2 separate regions of the Homo sapiens genome follow, and region 1 is linked to region 2. Evidence: promoter capture Hi-C in human tissues and cell types (Jung and others, 2019). All regions are on one chromosome and are shown on one strand. Each heading gives the region's core, a stretch centred on a gene start or on the middle of the fragment in contact. The rest is flanking DNA. Distances are from core to core; before and after follow the strand shown. Region 1 overlaps MYOM2 (myomesin 2). Region 2 holds the start of MYOM2 (myomesin 2).

Evidence for each region. Contacts are between HindIII fragments. The study calls those that stand out against the background at their distance.
Region 1: a contact is called between a fragment that was not itself captured here and the fragment with the promoter of MYOM2 in region 2, in 7 of the 25 tissues and cell types used here (H1 embryonic stem cells, bladder, heart left ventricle and 4 more).

What each region holds. Positions count from the first base shown.
Region 1 is chr8:2,077,602-2,080,338 of GRCh38, reverse strand. MYOM2 (myomesin 2) reads right to left here. Exons shown (of 37, transcript NM_003970.4): 12 at 1,406-1,605; 13 at 726-779. Among named protein-coding and RNA genes, the nearest start is that of MIR7160, 2.4 kb to the right of the region's middle. The HindIII fragment of the contact is 7,731 bases long and covers 1-2,737 here.
Region 2 is chr8:2,043,689-2,046,388 of GRCh38, reverse strand. MYOM2 (myomesin 2) reads right to left here and starts at 1,343. Exons shown (of 37, transcript NM_003970.4): 1 at 1,221-1,343. The HindIII fragment of the contact is 6,844 bases long and covers 1-2,700 here.

The sequences.
Region 1 (2,737 bases), core at 204-2,703, 34 kb before region 2:
ACGCTTTTGAGTCTGCAGCTCTAGGAGAGAGAACACGGCTGTGATTTTAGCGAGCAGCTCAAAATCACCTCTCTCTAGCCAGTGGCTCCACACTGATTTGAAATCTTTCTTTTTATGTTTTCACCCATGGCACTCTATGAACTCTAAGTCCAGTTAAAACCTTTTGATTTCTAGTTAATAATGTTGGATTCTCCTTAACACGTCATTCTTTCTAAAGGTCTCTAAAAGGAAAATCAGGAAGAAGAAATATCCACAAAATCAAATATACATAAGGACCAAGAACATCATTTGGCAGGAAAGACTCAATCCATTTCAGTTAAAATGTCAGGAATAAAATTTTTGCTTAGAAAATGTAAAATGAAATCGATTTCACAATGCAATCTGTGAGAAAGGATCTTACATCACCCAGGAACCAAGTCTGAGCTTTAGTTTGGTTTCTTCTCTACAAGTCCCTGAAAGAACGCCTTTGTAAACCCCAAATGAAAGGTGAGTCTAAGAGTCACCAATCCTTCACCCTTTCTCCCACCCTCTCACTCTGTCTTGCTTGATTTTTTCTTTTTTTTAACTTCTATGGACACTGGGCTTGCAGGCCTGACCTGCGGTTTTCATTTTTCCATGCAGAGGCCGTGCCCAGTAGGGGGCGTTCTCTGTCCATCTCTCCCATCTCTAATTACAACTCCAAATCCCCAGGGGCTGAGCAGCTGGGGTGATGAGGTGCTACTTACCTTCAAGGTCATCCTGATAAATGGCAATCTCCTTCTCTCCCTCCAAATGAACGGCTGCGGAGAGAAAGGTTGACACTCGATTTGACATGCGAAGTTTTCCCCAAAAGCCCGTTTTCCCTCATTCTGTGCCAGCTCTGCATCTCCTCTGCATTAGGACTACAACCTGTGAGTCCTCTGGGGGCATCAGAGCTGATTCTGGAAGTGTCCTGGTAACAGTTAGCACTTCTCAGCTCTTGGTGGTGGATGCAAAGGACCATGTGCGTAAGGAAAATATAGTGGCTCGCTTACAACCATAACGAAGGGCCCAGTCCCATTAAGGAATCTGTGTCATGCAAAATTAAAACTCAGAATAGGATGGCCTTCTAAGTGTCATTATGTGTTGAAATTATATCACCAATGGAATAAAAAAAAGGTCTAATTCTGAGCCAATTTAACTGGATGCCAGCAAAGAGCTTTCTGGAGGAGAGGCACATTCATTTTAGAGTGTACGTCAGCCCGTTTTCATTCCTGTAGTGATGTTGGTGGAGATGTCAGAGAACGTTGTAACAGCCTGTGCTATGCTCTGCACACAGGGCATTCTCAGGGCTCACATCGAGTTGGGAGGGAAAGAGACAACAAATCACACACAAAACAGCCAAAGCTTCCTGGGCACAGTGGATACTTAGGCGTGAGCAGCTTACCTTGTAACCTTCTGAGGTCCAAGGGGTCAAGTGCAGCCACCGCATCAGAGACCCTGGAGGGTCGGCTGATGCCCGCACTGTTCACTGCCCTCACTCGGAATATGTAAGACCTTCCTTCAAAAAGCCCTGTGACCGGGTATTTGCAGATTTTCACCGGTGCATCATTGCACTGCACCCAATTATTCGTTCCTACTTCACATCTTCAAGTTAAAAAAAGAAAAACAACAGAGAATAGCAAATGTGGCAACCTACTAAATATACATAGGTATATGCATATATGCACACACTGATTATAACAGGACAATATCTCACGCCAGTAAAATCTTTGCTGCTAAGATATTGACTTGTATAGATAAACATTAGAAGACAGAGCTATTTAGAAAATGCAATATATATATTATATGTAATATCTATTATATATGTAATATATGCCCATGAATCTTAATAATTTATAGCTGAAGATCAATTTCTGTCATCAAACACATTTAGGCAAAAATCTCCTCAAAAAATTATTTTAGACGCATCCTGAACAGTTCTTGTTCCGACTTACGTGACATAGTCACGGCACCCCTAAGCTGCGGCTTGGCCCGTCTGAGGCCCAGGCTGGGGAAACAGGCTCAGCCCCCTCTGCCTCCAGCTCCCGTCCCACTCTGTGAGACCAAGGGCCCAGGTCCCTGGGAAAGCTGGCTTACAGTCTCCTAGAATAATGTTAGGACATTTCTTTCTAGAATGCCTCTCATGTGGAATTTAGAAGTCTTTTGAAAATATTAATTCCTGACCAGAAACCTGGAAATATAGGAAAGATTAACCTCTGTTTTTCACAGGTTGAAAAATGTAAGAAAAAAACCTTCACATGAAATTCCCAGGAGAAAAGAGCTAGTTCAGAAAATCAGTGTTGGGAGGGAGCACTTCAACCCCAGAGTGGTGCCTTCATCTGGGAAAGAACCAGCTCTCCTCCTAAGTATCCAGCACTTTTAATGAAAGCTGTCTGATCCACATGTCATGGGCTGTTTTAGCCGAAGAGAACAACAGGTCAAAACCAAAAGTCTGATGGGAAAACCTGCAACTTCAGGCAACAGCTGGCAAGTCGTAAGCCCAAAGGAAGGGCAGAGGAGGAGCTGCACCCCCCACTTCCAAATGCACCCTCATTCCCAAAGTGTTCCGTTGCTTTGAATTTCATGTTTGCGCTTTTTGTAATGAGGGGAGGAGCGTGGATTGTTAGCTGAGACAGTGCAGGAAATGGTTTTTGTCAACATGGCGGGAAAACTTATCAGCTGTCCCAGGAGAAAAGAAGATCGTTTTGAGGGTTTGTTTTTCTTGCTGTAGTTGCTT
Region 2 (2,700 bases), core at 94-2,593:
GCCACTCCCGGAATGCTCCTGACACGTTTAGGAATCATGACACCAGGATGAAACGCGAGCCTCTCCTCCAGTGCAGGGGACCACGTGTCTGATATCCCCATCCTAATTCCTTCCTGCAAACAACGTGTGGAGCCCATTCCTCATGTCACCAGGATGGGTTTTAATTTGCAAAAATGTTTGAAGTACAAAACATTGACTTCCACTTAATGAAGGAAATTGTTTGTACAGTTAAAAATGTCAAAGTCAATAAATACACCAAATTAAAGCTTTCTAGAGGGGAAAGGGACTCCCAGACACGCAGCGTTGGCCTGTGCCACAAGTGGCTAAGCCCTTGGCTCCCAAGACAAGTTTTAGCTTGGGACTTGGTTTATTAAATAACGCCTTAAATTATCTTTGTTCCACGCTTTCTTTGAGTCCTGTTTTACTTCTACTTAGTAAGAAAGGAATGTGAAATGGAGAATTAGAAAAGGCCAGGTGTTCCCAGTGATGGCAAACCCCTTCCTTCCGTTTGCCTCCGGTGCCTTCCACGTGCAACCACCCAGCCCCACTGTCTTTCTCCAGCAGGTTGCATTTCAAGAGCACGCCCTGAGAAGGCACAGCCTCTATCAGCGGAGTGGAGCTGAAGAAGTCTGAAGGGTCACAACACACCCAACAGCACAAAGAAGAAAACAGCCGTAAGAACGCTGTCATTTTTGGGCAAAAACTTGCAAGTCCTGACAAGGATTGTTCTCTTTCCCATACCGTGGATAATATAGGCTAGGTCTAAGCTGAATGACCCTCGACTCTTTTTTCCCTTAAGAAAATATCCAGTTTTATTATTTCACACCTTTATAAGTCAGCCCTCTCCTCGGGGGAGGCTTTCGTTTCTGAGAATCTCATGAAACTTGCAGACATCAGTCCACTGACTGGGGGGCCCCCTGGGGCCACGATGAGACCAGGGCTAAAACCCAAAGCACACGCCGCAGGGTGCTAAACGGCACTTAGCAAAGACCACGGCTGTGGGAAATAAAATGTTAGTTGAGCATAAAACCTCGTCAAAGAAATACAGATCCCAGAACTAATTGCTCTGTTTTCCACAGTAAAGGGTGCCTGCGACGGGGTGCACTGGCTCTCTCTTCTTGACCCTGAAGTAGAGGTACTTAGAAAATGTGAGTGCAGAAGTTACCGGTCCTCCCCTTAAAGCCACAAATTAGAAAAGGCAAGAAGAGAAAGACACTTACCCAGACAGAAAGGAAAATTGCAAGGAGGAGAGAGAATTCCTGACCACCGGCTCACCAAGCCACCCACACTCCAGCCGAGGAAGGCAGAGCTGACTCCTGCAAAGCAAGCGCCTGTGCCTCCCTCCCGTTTAAGGTCTGAGGAGCTACTATATATAGACGCCTGGGCCTGCCTCTCCCCACATCAATACCCACATCGTAAATCACCAGCCTGACCTCAGGAGGAAAAGCTTCTTGTTCAAACTGAGGGCGGGGGAAATCACGATTCAAAACTGGAACGTGTCCTTTCTGAGTCCCAAACTGCACTTTTCCCAGGAAACCGGGTGTGACACTTCAGCCCCCGACCCAGAAAGAGAGGGCAGGGCACTGACTTCCCACGCTCCCTCCCCGCAACTCTCCTCCATGAGTTCTAATCCTTACGTGTGAATTCTCAGACATATCTTCAATCCTTTCGAGCTACAGGTTCCCTGGCTCACAAATTGCAACTCCTGAATGAGTCTTTAATAATGACATGGATTTCAGTGAGCATTTGTGCCATTCGCAGGCCTGGACACCCGAGTTGAGGTCGGCTGTGGAGGGAGGGAGGTGCACAAGCCCCTGGGTTTGTGAGCGTGTGTGTGCATGTTCGTGTGTTTGTTCGTTTTTTTTTTTTTATTTCAAGAACGACTCAGGTCTTCACTCGATTGTATCTTAGGGCTATTTTAGCAAGAACTGCCTACCCAAAAGAGGAGCGGTGCCTAGTCGGCAAGTCGGGGCTTATTTATAGCCATTACCACAGACGTACACTGCGTCTACACCACACGGATAATTGCAGGGTGCCCGTCGTTTCGCACAGCGTGTGTCCAAATATAGATAACACACACCTGGCACGGTCCTGGGCTGCAGCCTGGCCAAGAGGCGGGGCCTCAAGGGGATGCCCCCATCTGAGGACCCGGAGAATCACACTCCAGCTGCACCTCACCACAGGGGCTGAGGACTTCGGCCAGCTGCTCAGCCCACGGGGGCTATGCTCCCCAGCTCTAAAACGCATGGAATAACAACTTTCCTGTAAGTTTGTTGTGACAAGTAGAGAAAATATGATAAGAGAATTGCCTTAAGAAACTCCACGTTCTCACACTGGGGTATCAGAGGCACAGCCAAGGACCAGCGAGCAGGTGGATGGAGGCGAAGATCAGATACGAGAAAGACGCGAGCACAGCCTCTTGCTGGGCCCCAGAGCGTTCTGGATGCTGGATCAGGAGGCGAGTGTTTCTGTCTTCTTCCCCTTCGTATTCTGATGGCCTAGCATTTAATTTAATTAGTGTTTGTTGAGTGATTTCTTAGTCTATTCAGGCTGCTTTAGCAAAACACCATAGACCGTGTAGCTTATAAAACACAGGAGCTTCTTTCCCACAGTTCTGGGGACTGGAAGTCCAAGATCCAGGTACCAGCAGACACTGCCTGGGGAGAGCCTTCTGGTTCTGGGACGGCGCGGTCCCTGAGT